Linked DNA regions of Homo sapiens: all the other regions are linked to region 1. The links are contacts of gene promoters, found by promoter capture Hi-C in human tissues and cell types (Jung and others, 2019). All regions are on one chromosome and are shown on one strand. The core of a region is centred on a gene start or on the middle of the fragment in contact, and the rest is flanking DNA. Distances in the headings are between cores, read along the strand shown. Region 1 holds the start of LINC00955 (long intergenic non-protein coding RNA 955). Region 2 has its middle 6.7 kb from the start of LINC02171. Region 3 has its middle 14 kb from the start of LINC02171.

Region 1 (4,066 bases), core at 822-3,321:
GAGGATGGATGATGGGTCTTTGGGTAGATGGGTAGATGGGTGGATGGATAGGTGGGTGGACCACAGTCTGATGGGTAGATGGGTTGATAGGTGGTTGTTTGAGTAGGTGGATAGAATGGATGGATAGAAGTTTTATGAGGGTATGGGTGAATGGGGAGTAGTGGATAAGTAGGTGAAGCAGTCAATGGGTAAGTGAGTGAATGTGTAGGAGGATCATGCATGAATGGGTGAGTGGATGTCATGGGTATATGGGTATAGGAGAGGTAGATAAGTATGTGTACAGATGGGCAAAGGGAAGGATGTGGGCGTGTTATGGGGTGGTTGGGTAGGTTGACGGATGGATGGGTGGATAAGTATTGTGTTACATGGGAGAAAACAAGTTTAGTTAGGTTGATGGGTGAATGGATGAGTGAGTAGTTGGATATAGACATGGAAGCTGGCTAGCTGGGTGGATGGATGATGGGTGAGTGAATGGATGGGTGGGTGATGAAAGAAAGGGAGGACGGATGGGTGGATGGATGGATGAGTGAGTGAATGAATGGATAGGTGGGTGAATGGAATAGGTGGATGGATGGATGGACGGATGGATGGATGGATGGATGGATGGATGGATGGATGGATGATGAAAGAAAGAAAGCATGAAAGGATGGGTGGGTGAATAGAATAGGTGGATGAATGGATGGATGGTTGGAAGGATGGATAGATAAGTGAATAATGAATGGGTGGACGAATATGTGGATGAATGGATGGATGGGTGGATAGATGGATGATGAAAGAAAGAAAGGGTGAATGGATGGGTGGATGGGAGAGTGAATAAATGAATGGGTGGATGAATGGGTAGATGGATGGATGGGTGGATGGATGAATGAATGAGTGAGAGGATGGGTGGGTGATGAAAGAAAGGAAGGATGAAAGGGTGGACGGGTAGGTGGATGAATGTATGATAGGATGGAAGCTGGCTGGATGTGGGGGTGGATGAGTTGAATGGACAGATGGGTAAGAGGGTGAGTAAGTGGGTGGATGGTGAAGGAATTAATAATGTTATTATTATAAACATTATTATTATTATATGAATAAGTTTCTGGTTTAGAAGACTAGTATCCTTCTGAGAGCTCTCTCAGAGTGTCAGGCTCTACAAATTTGCTTCCTTGGGCTGCCCCTCTCTGGGTTGTTTCCCCATTTGCTCCATGAGTGTGAAGGAGTAGATTGGCCAGATTAGCTGCGCCTGCTCCAGGGGCCCAGCCCAAGCCCAGGTGCCTGGGAGTCACACTCCAGGACACTCGACCCCTGCCCTCTGGGGCCAGGGTCAGCAGCCTCTGGCCAGACCCCTCTTCTTAAAACAAGCTCAGGTAGGGAGAGAACACTGCCCTGCTGGTGGTTGCCATGGAAAATCCTTCATTGCTTGTTTTTCTCCTCGACTGATTAAGAAAAGGGAGTCATAAAATGACAGGGCGTCACTGGGCCTTGCCGCTGGCCAGCTTTGACTTATCCCCTGACATTTCCCAGGAGCCAGCTAACCTTTTCTGCCACAAATAGACTGAAGCGGGTCCCTTGAGGCAGTCTAGCCTGAACAGAGTCCATCTCAGGGGAGGTCAGGACCCGGGATACAGCAACAGGAGCCGGGTCATTCAAATAACCAGGAAGGAGAGCAGACAGTGCTGGGACCGAGAGCACAGCGAGGACCCTAAGGAAGCCACCAAAAAACAGCCTTCGCAACAGTCAGGACTGCTGTCAGGACCACCAGGCAGAGCCCAGGGAGCAAACACCTGCTCTCCCTCCCTGGGGTCCCCGCTGTGTTCCCAGGCATGACACTCACCTCCCAGAGCAGCAGCCTGGCCTCTGCTCCTCTCCGGGCAGAAACGACACAGGGATGCTCCCCAGTCAGTGTGCTGGGGTCCTAGGGGCGTTGGCGACGCCGGGGCAGGTTCCACCATAGATCCTGCTGCCTCAATCCAGAGGGCTTTCGGAAGGCGCCCCTGCTATGGCATCGCAGAGGGAGGAGACCCGGGATGTGGCCCAGCAGGGCTGTGTATACACCAAGATGCCTCCGTCTGCCCTTCCAGCTGTAAATCAAGACTCAGCCGTGGAGAGGGAGGATAAAGTCCACAGGGGCTGAACCTCCTCCCCAGCCCTGGTCTCAGCCTCAGGATAGAAGACTTTAACCCCAGAAGGCCCTCAGGAGGCCAGGCAAGCCAACACCCTCGAACCTGTGCCACGATGGGGGGCGATGGGGCGAGGACAGAGCCTGGAGTCACAGACCAGGAAACTGGGTTGCCTCAGCTCACCCAGGGTCCCAAGGCCAGGACAGGGCAGAGCCGAGACCAAAGTCCCTGCGAGGCCGCCCTCATGAAGGGACTCGGGAGGGTTCACTGGGTGAATGGATGAGCCTGTACAGTGAATGAAGGCCGAGCCCACGGCTGGGAGCTGCCATCCCCGGCTTCCTCTGAATACAGACAGCCTGATGCGCAGGTCTCAGATCTGGAAGGGGGCCTGGGCCCCTTGACCCCATCTCTTCATTTACTGCTGGGGAAACCGAGGGCCAGCCTGCCACAGTAATGCCGTGGGTGCCTGAGTCATCTCCTCCTCCTCCTCTTCCTTCTCCTCCTCCTCCTCTTCCTCCCCCTTCCTCATCTCCCCCTTTCCTCCTTCTCTTCCTCTTCCTCCCTTCCTCCCACCCGTCTCCCTCTCCTGAGCCCCAGCTCTGCTCTGCCACCAGGCCTTGTCCCTTTTAGGGTCCAAAAGAGCAGGTCCTGCCCTGGGGCCAGTCAGCATGAAAAGGGATGACCATCTCTTCCTCCAGAGGACAGGGACTCTATGCCCCAGGCACTCCAAGGTCAAACCTGGCTCCCACTCAGACTATGAAGACAGCATCCACTGGGTCAGAGTCATGAAGCCACGGGTCCCAGGGGACAGCTCAGGTGGCCACAGGGCCAGACTGGCAGGCTGCCCTCTGCCTCCTGTTAGCACAAACACCCCTCCCCTCAGGCCTGAACTCTGACATGAGCCAGTGGGCACCGGGCCCTGTCAGGAACAGGAGGAGGCCACAGCCATCCTCAGGAGAGAACAAAGGACACACAGGCCTCCGGGGAGAGCAGTGGGTGGCAGTGACAGGAGGGGCTACTCAGAATTCATGAGCGAGGGCCAGGCAGCTTGGCCACCTTGGAGGAGCCGCTGCACCTATCCAAGCCCAGGTTTCCCTGCTGAAGGCAGCACCGGTGTCTCCTCCTGGGGGTGTTGAGAGGGTCATCCCAGGCCAGGGAGGTCGAAGGGCTCTGTGAGCTGTGAAGCGCTGGGCACCTGTGGGGCGGGGGCGTTCATCCTGCGGTCAGTCTGCCCTGGAGGGCGGAACACCTACGCACTGTTCCAGCGGGAGGGGTATGGCGTCCAGTGAGGCCCAGCTCCCCGAGCCTTTCCTGATGGCACTGGAAGACAGGCAGCATCCCAGAAACATATAAAAGGCCCAGGGGCTGGTGCTGGGGGCACATGACCGGGGCGACCCTGGGCTGGGCTGTGTACCCCCGGAGCACTGCAGCAGACAGAGCAGGGGTGCGAACTCCAGGGTCCCAGGATCCATCTCCTTCCCTGCAACAAACCCCTCTCTGCTGGAAATCCCTGGAGCGGTTCCTCCATCCTGCTCTGAACCTCCTTGACTGATCCCACCGACCGGTGCACTGCACAGCTGCCTGGAGACCAGAAGATTCCATACGTCTCCCTCCACCTGCCCAACACCCACAAGCCCAGGAGGCTGCCCTCCATAATTCTGGCTTTTCTGCGTATTTTTCAAAGCACAGGGCACTGGAAGAATGCCTGCATGAGACATTCTTGCAAGCCAGAGCCCGCTGGAGGCATGCAGGAGAGCAAAACCTCCCTGCTGTGTCTGCAGATTTGCACACATTTCTGGGAAATAAACCTGCGGCCCCTCCTCTCCCCGAGACGTTGGTTTATCTTCCAGGGCAAAAGGATACCGTCTTTTCTGTGGCAAAGATGGGGGCGAGATGGCTAGCAGTCCCCTTAGAAGATCAAGGGTTTCCTCGGCTGACACAAACCTGCTCTGTTTGCCCCCTGA
Region 2 (4,066 bases), core at 974-3,473, 110 kb before region 1:
TGCTGGATTTTATCTGCTGGTATTTTGATTGGGTTCTGAGCCTATATTCGTGATGTGCTAGTTCTGTAGTCTGTGTGTCTGTGTATGTCATGTTTTACAGATTTTGACATGAACCTAGCTTCATAAAAATTAATTAGGGGGTTCTCCATCTTTTTCTCTCCCCTGGAAAAAAAATTGATAGAGCTCTAGTATCATCAGTTCTTCTGATGTTTAAAAGAAGTCACTGGAAAAACCACCAGACCCTAAAGCTGTGGGAAGAGGCAATGGTGAGAATTCTTCAATATCTTCCTTACATATTCAGGTTTTCTTCTTCCTGTCTTGACGTGATCTTGATCATCCATATTTTCCAAGAAAATATCATTTTTATCAGAATGCGTAGATTAGTTACTTAGAACCTCTTCAGGTCTATTTTTGTGTTCCCTTTCTGTTTGCTGGTTTAGAATTCATTTTTTCTTGTTCAAATGGGCTGGAGGTTTGTTTCTGTTGGAGAGTGTGTGTGCACACCTGTGCCTGTGTGCGTGCCTGTGTGTGTGCACGTATGTGTATGTGTGTGCATGAGTGTGTGTGCATGTGTGTGTGTGCATATGTGTGCACACGTGTGTGGGGGGGGTGGGTGGTAGGGTAAAGCTCATAGATCCATGTATCAATTCCGCCATTAATTAAACCTACTGTTAACGCCACTGATCTCTGCTCTGATCTTTTTTATCTGTTTTGACTTTCAGTGCCTCAGATCAAAATACCAGCAGGTAAAATCCAGAGGGCACTGGTGGCTGAGGATGAGACCTGGGGTCTCCCTGTGCAGGGTGCAAAGTGACAACTTCAGCTTCATTGCAATCTTCTCAAGTCTTTCCCCCTAAGGTTAGGGCGCCCGTTGTCTCTTAGGGAAGAAAGATGTCCCGGGATCCAGGTCACATGAACCCATGGACATGTGACTGTAATGACTGTTCAGAACTTGAAAAGAGCGAGTTTCAAGGCTGCTGACAAGGGAAGTGTGGGAAGAGGTGTGTGGCTGGACCCCCGGGAGTGGGGGTCTCGGTGATGAGCTGGACGAGATGCCTTCTCATGTGGATATCTTCCAGCCTCACTCTCCAGCTGCCTTAGTGCATATGAGGGCATGTGTCTGAATGGTCATGTATGAAGGGTCAGTGCAGTAGTGGGGGGCCAACAGCACGGACACCCCCTCACGAAGGCCGCCCTAGCTGCCCTCATTCTTGTATGTCCAGCCTGTTGACAGCCCAGGCCAATGCTGACCTCCCACGAGGCACTGTCCCAGGCTGCCCTATTGGTAGGTGGATTCTGGTAGCCCCTTCTCGTGATGGAGGGGCCGGTGGAAAGGCTGCGAGGAAGCTGGGGCTGTCACTCCACACCTGCACAGAGAGGCTGGATGCTTGTCCTCAGCCATAAATGCCCTCGTGGAAGGAGATACGTGTTTGGGATGTGAATTGCCTTTCCCAAATCCCATTCAATTGTCAGCATCGTCGTCTGTGGTCCTGCAAACACCTATTCACTCCCGAGGTATCTCGTCCAACATTATTTCTGACCAAGAAACTCAATTTTCTCTGAAAGAAAGTGTAGCTCTGGGCTTTTGTCCCTGGGTTTCGTGGGCCTAACTTACACGCCGTTCCTGGGCACAGCTGGCCTGATGGAGGAATAGAAGGGCCTGCAGGAGACCAGCTCTGGAGCTGGATTCTACAGGGGGATGGGGCACAGGCTTTAAGTGAATGACTAATGCCTGGCGCCATTTCCCCCATTTCCAGTACACTCCATTGGGAGCCACAGGCAGGAGGTGAGAGCAGCCCCCGAACTGTTACTCAAATAACCCATTAAACAGTGCTCAGCCGCCCTCCGTGGCTCTGGGCCGGACGACCTGGAGGGTCCGGTGTTGGTGGGAGGAGTGCTGTCTTAGGAAACAGCTGTGGTCCCTGCAGGTTAGGAACTGAGATTGCTGTCAGGCCTCTGGTGGGCTTTACCTTCCAGCCAGCAGACAGGAAAGGGCTTGCCCTGGGTGCTAAGCAAATCCTCAGAGACACGGGGGCCAGGAGGATGCTATAAGTCTCAGGGTGCCCGCCAGCATTCCCATACTCAGTAACACGGGACAAAGAAAACGACCAGCACAGACAGGCCCTGGAGGTCTCAGATCCGCAGAAATGGAGACGGGCCGCCTGACCACCTAGCCGTGGTGGGATGGAGGGTAGGGGGAGCCTGGGATGCAGTGAGCCCCCGAAGTGGGTGTCTGCCTGCAGTGAGGCTAGCCTGGGGTGAGGACCTGTGTGGCTTCAATCCCCTGGGGAACACGAGCCGGACTGGGAAGGGAAGGAGCTCCAGGAGCGGGGATGCCAGCCAGTCCCCAGGGGAACTCTGGGGCAGTGCAAGTTGGACATCGGAGTGTCCCCACTGATGGCAGCAGCCAGGGCGTTGACACTCCTGCCCCTTCCGCCACTGGCCCGGAGCAGGGGTGCCTCTGGCCCTCCAGCGGGCAGGTGAAGCACGTTCCCCACAGAGGCAGCGATAGCTGTGGGGGAGGTGCACAGCTGGGGTCCACGCACGGCACCAGGACCTGGAGAACACAGGCGGGGGACTGAGCTGCCGAAACCGTGGGTGACAGGGAAACCCCGAATGATCCTGATGCTGTGAGAGGTTTGAGGACAAGCATCTGAGGGCGCAACACCATCCCATCTCACAACAGCAAGGAAAGGGGCATGAGTGGGTCTCGGGGAGGAGCGGCTGGGCCCCAAACATCAAGTTCAACACGCTTCCTCGGTGTCCAAGCAGGGTGTCAGGCGTGTAGGCGGATGGTGCATCTGGAGCTCGAGGCGCCGCTGGGGCTGTTGGGGTGAACGGTGATCGGGGCGGGTGGAGGAGGTGGGGCGGCGAGGAGATGGAGGAGCGAGGGCAGTGGAGAGAGGATGAGAAGCACAGGCGCGGCCAACACGAAGATCAGGGGCACGTGGAAACCTACAGACAGACTGAGGAAAAGGGCGACCCCACCTCCGCAGCTGGGAGGGCCACCAGCCAACCTCCAGGCCCAGCGTGGGGCCCGCGGCCTTCACCGTCCAGCAGAGCTGCGGGGAGGGGACCTGACTGGGGGTCCCAAGGAGAATGGGAGGTGGGGCTGTGGGGCCTGTTTACAAAAGGAACGGAGTTTGCAGCAAGGGGAGCAGGGAAGTGGGAAGTCACAGGACCACAGTGTTCTGCACCCCGAGTCCAGCCACACCCCCACCAAAAGCCCCCCCCGATATCCCCTCCGGCCCTGTCCCAACGTCACACTTTCTCCTTCAGTGTCTGGGTGTCTGTTCTTCTCAGGAGGCTCCGAACTGCAGCAGGACAAGGGTTGGGCCTTCTGGAATAATCCTGCAGCTGGCTGGGGTTCGGAGGTGCTGGGGGAGAATCACAACGTGAGCAGAGTACATACGCGGGTCGGGCATCCTGCCCAGGACATGCACCTGTGGCCTCAGGAACCCTCTCCCTTCACAGATCCTCAGCATCATCCTCTGAGGTTGGTTCTCACTTTGCAGCTGAGGAAACTCAGGCACGGAAGTCCCATCATCTGGTCACTTCCCGGGTGACTGCTCAGTAGAGCAGATTCAAACCCAACCTCCCAGCTCCAGAGTCCAGCTTCCACTCCCTGTGCTCCCGGGAACCGGTCTTCTGCACCAAAGTCATTTCCAGTAACAAAATATTCCCCCTGTTATGATCCCACCCACCTCATCCTGTAATCCCCTCCTGGGTGTGCTTTGGGAGGCCCTAAAACCAGGGCTCACCCAGGACACACACAGCCTCAGCGTCTTTGCAGGCCCATTGTGACCAGTGGAGGGTCTTGACCTCGAGTCGCCCAGGTTCTTGGTGTTTTGAACAAAGAATTGGATAAAATGCACAAACGAAGCAACGAAAGAGTGAAGCAAGAAAGCACAGATTTACTGAAATGAAAGTACACTCCACAGAGCGGGAGCCAGCTGGGGCAAGCGGCTCAAGGGCCCTGGCCGCAGAACTCTCTGCAGTCCAAATACCCTCTAGAGGTTTCCCATCCGTTACTTGGCCTCACCCCACGCAGACGAAGTAGTGGCCC
Region 3 (4,066 bases), core at 641-3,140, 87 kb before region 1:
ATGGATAGATGGGTGGTGAGGGAAGGAAAGAAGGAAGGAAGGGATTGAGTGGGTAAAAGGATGCATGGATGGATGGATGGGTGGATCAAGGAGTGGATGGATGCATGGATGAATGGATGGATGAGTGGATGGGTGGGTGAATGGATGGGTGGGTGGATGGATGGATGGATGGATGAATGGATAGAGGGGTGGATGGGTGGGTGAATGGATGGGTGGATGGATGGATGGATGACTGGAGGGGTGGATGGATGGGTGGATGACTGGATGGGTGGGTGAATGGATAGGTGGGTGGGTGGATGAATGGATGAATGGATAGAGGGGTGGATGGGTGGGTGTATGGATGGGTGGTTGGGTGGATGGATGAATGGGATGGATGGATTAATGCATAGGTACATGGTGAATAGATAGTCATGAATGGATGGACGGATAGATGTATATGTGGGGAACAGATGGATGAGCACACAAACTGTCTGCCTGGGAGTCTGGAGACCTAAGATTGTCTGGACCTATAAGTTCCTCCACAGACTCAGCCCTGCCCCTAACAGCAATGCTGTTAAAATTAACCATGGATTTTTTTTCTTTCTTGTTCTAAATGTACTGGGTAGCTGAGCCCGCTGGTGGTTTGCAGAGCGGGTTTCATCTGCTCTCAAAGCCAGTCCACATGAAGCCCAGCCTTGGTAGCTGTTTTTCCTCCTCTATCTTTCGAGCAGACGCATTTGGCAGACAGCAGATTTTGTCATTTTTCTTCACTTGGGCTGTTATTCCTGAGTAATAACTCATGCTCACAGGAAGGTTGGACTTCTCAGTAATGATATTGAAATTGGATCCCTGGGCACAGGGCATGCAGCAAGCCAGTGAGGCCCTAGCATGTCAATGAGGCGGGCCTGGCCTGGCAGTGCCCAGGGCTGTCTGTCTGGAGAGGGGCTGCTCTTGTACAGCATCTCCCTGAGCCAGGGCCTGGGCTGCACCTCGGCAACCTCCCAACTGCCTCCAACTTGCACAGCAGAACCACGAGAAAATCCCCAGTGAGTGTCTCCTAGTTAAGGACCTAATGTGTCTTACCCAGGAGTGACCATGTCCCAGCTCTGAGCACGGACATCTGTGGTAAGAATAGTACCACGTGCCCGGGAGTCAGGCCCTTGTCACTGAGTCCAGTTCAGAAAGCCCCTGGGCCTATATTCAGCTGTGAATGCAGAAGACACAAATCAGACCACACCACTGTAGGACCCAGAAAAAAAATGCAAATGCATGGTCCTCACCGAAAATTATTAACAATTTCAGGATGGCAACAAGAGAGAATTAAACCAAGCACCGAGTCCCCTTGAGCACTGAGACCTGAGCACAGGGTCCTCCTGAGCACCAAGTCCTCCTGAGCGCTGAGTCCTTCTGAGCAACGAGTCCTCCTGAGCACAGTCTCCCTAAGCACGGGTCCTCCTAAGCATGGAGTCCTCCTGAGCACCAAGGTCTCCTGGGCACCAAGTCCTCCTGAGCACGGGGTCCTCCTGGGCACTGAGTCTCCCTGAGCACCAGGTCCTTCTGAGCACTGGGTCCTCCTGAGCATGAGGTCCTCCTGAGCACGGGGTCCTCCTGAGCACTGAGTCCTCCTGAGCACAGGGTCCTCCCGAGCCCAGGGTCCTCCTGATCAGTGAGTCCTCCTGAGCCCGGGGCCCTCCTGAGAGGGGTTCTGTGTGTCTGCTGGGGGCACAGCCTGTGAAGCTGGCCAGGGACACAGCTTTGGCTCTGAGCTCCCTGAGGCTCTGCTCTCTGCATGCCTGGGTTGAGCAATTTCACTCACAGCCCAGCTGCAGGTTATCAGCTGGGGCCATGCAAGTAGGTGCCACTAAGGACAGGCTTGCAGGTGGCCATTATTCAGGTGGCAGGCACTTCCTCCTCACTCCACCTCATCACCGTTGCCCATCTTCTCCCCAGTGGCCGTCCTGAGCGTGCTCTGGACCTTGGTGGATGGGCCCCGGGCTGTCTGTTGTTGCTGCTGTGGTTCTGTTTGAAAAGCTCCCCTTGTCACCAGGGACGCAGGCTCTGCCTGGAAGGGCTGTCCCTGGCTTCCCCCCGGCCTGTCCTCTCCCCTCCTGTTTGAGTTGCTGTTCTACAGTCTCCATTGCAACCTCACCTTTTCCGAGGTCGCCCATGGGTTGGCACACACTGTTGGCCATGCACCCTCTGCCGCCTCTCCAGAGGATGGCAAGGAAGAATATGAGGTGAAACAAAGGCACTCACACACATGGGTGCACTCTCACACACACTACACTCACACACACTGCACTCTCACACACACTGCACTCACACACACTGCACTCTCACACACTACACTCTCACACACACTACATTCTCACACACTCTACACTTTCACACACTACACTCACACACACTACATTCTCTCACACACTACACACACACACTACACTCACACACACACTACACTCACACACACTACATTCTCACACACACTACACTCACACACTACACGCTCACACACACTGCACTCACACACACTACATTCTCTCACACACTACACACACACACTGCATTCACACACACTACACTCACACACACACTACACTCACACACACTACATTCTCACACACACTACACTCACACACTACACGCTCACACACACTGCACTCACACGCACTGCACTCTCACACACACTACATTCTCACACACACTACACTCTCACACACTGCAGTCACACACTACACGCTCACACACACTGCACTCACACACACTGCACTCACACACACACTGCACTCTCACACACACACTGTACACACACCACTGTAGGACACACCACTGTCTCCTATGTGACGAGAGGGGCAGCCCCAGGCCAAAGGTGAATGAAAAGGAGACATTGGTTCTCGGGCCCAAGTGGTGGCATCACAACAGCGTCGTAAAGGATTTTCCAGGGTGGTCCCATCTCCACACAACTCCGATGTTAGGATCACTGACTTCGGTGCCTCATGTCTCCCAGGATGACCTCCAGGGTGTTTCGAAAGGAAGAAGACAGCAGCCACGGGGCGCCGGAGCAGGTGGGACCGGCTCTGCCCCTGCAGCCTGGAAGAAGGCCGGGGTTCTCCCACTAAGTCACGCAGCTTCCAAAGCTGGGCGACCCCACCCACCTCTTCTGCTGTGAAAGGGGCCTCCTCACCCGGGACGCAGTGCAGGGGCTGTTGCCATTTCAGGAGAGTCCCCTAGAGGCCAAGGACCCCACCTCCCGAGCAGGTTGCAAGACCTGCATTTGGGCGGGACTGTATCCCCAGAGTCAAACGGCAGCTGCGGAAACAGAAGCAAGCTTACTTTCTTTTCCACTGAACAAATTCAACTTTGGGATGCAATGAAGCGCGACTTCTTCAAATGGACAAACAGGTAGCAAGCGCTGACTTGGGAGAGCGATCTCTCAGAGTAAATTGTAGGACAGCAAAGTCGCAAGACTCCTCTGCTGTTCCCAGATAGGACTTTCCAGGCACAACTGTGCAGTTGTAGCTGTGAGTGCAGGAAGGGCTCTGCCGGAGGCTCAAGGGCCTTCCCTCATCCGCCCTCCACGCGCCCTCATCCTCTCTCCACGCGCCATCCCTCCTGCCCGCGACCTCTTCTCCAGCGGTGAGCCAAGCCACGTGGCCGGCAGGGGTCCTGGCCGCACTCTCCCCTCCCGGTGTCTACTGTCTGTGCCATGTGACTTTGCCTTTGCTCCCACCAGCCTTGACTCTGGTTCACTTGTGAGTTGTTTGATGGCAGAGGTGATGAAGCAGGGCCTTGGTGTGTGCCTGAGGGGTAACCAGGAGGGGAATACACCCTAGGAGGGCAGCCTCTGCAGCCTGGGCCCCAGGACAACCACCGGAGGAGGGGGACCTGCGTGGGAGCCACATCCATCAAGAGCACAGCGTGAAGCAGGACCAGTCAGTCCTTGCCGTGAGCAGACCTCAGCCGACCCTCAAGCCCGAGAGGAACACGCGCTCCCCTCCTCAGGCCAGGGTGGACGCCTGCAGCTGGTCTGCAGCAGCACTGACAGGCGCGTTTCCCCCACAGCCCCTCTCCATCAGACACTGTGTGA

The links. Contacts are between HindIII fragments. The study calls those that stand out against the background at their distance.
Region 2: a contact is called between a fragment that was not itself captured here and the fragment with the promoter of LINC00955 in region 1, in 4 of the 25 tissues and cell types used here (H1 embryonic stem cells, aorta, mesendoderm cells and 1 more).
Region 3: a fragment that was not itself captured here is called in contact with the fragment with the promoter of LINC00955 in region 1 in 5 of the 25 tissues and cell types used here (H1 embryonic stem cells, bladder, lymphoblastoid cells and 2 more).

What each region holds. Positions count from the first base shown.
Region 1 is chr4:3,574,874-3,578,939 of GRCh38, reverse strand. It overlaps LINC00955 (long intergenic non-protein coding RNA 955), which reads right to left and starts at 2,071. Exons shown (of 3, transcript NR_040045.1): 1 at 1,817-2,071. The HindIII fragment of the contact is 13,427 bases long and covers 1-4,066 here.
Region 2 is chr4:3,682,497-3,686,562 of GRCh38, reverse strand. No RefSeq gene overlaps it. Among named protein-coding and RNA genes, the nearest start is that of LINC02171, 6.7 kb to the right of the region's middle. RefSeq lists enhancers at 1,810-2,367, 2,368-2,927. The HindIII fragment of the contact is 8,511 bases long and covers 1-4,066 here.
Region 3 is chr4:3,661,731-3,665,796 of GRCh38, reverse strand. No RefSeq gene overlaps it. Among named protein-coding and RNA genes, the nearest start is that of LINC02171, 14 kb to the left of the region's middle. The HindIII fragment of the contact is 5,149 bases long and covers 1-4,066 here.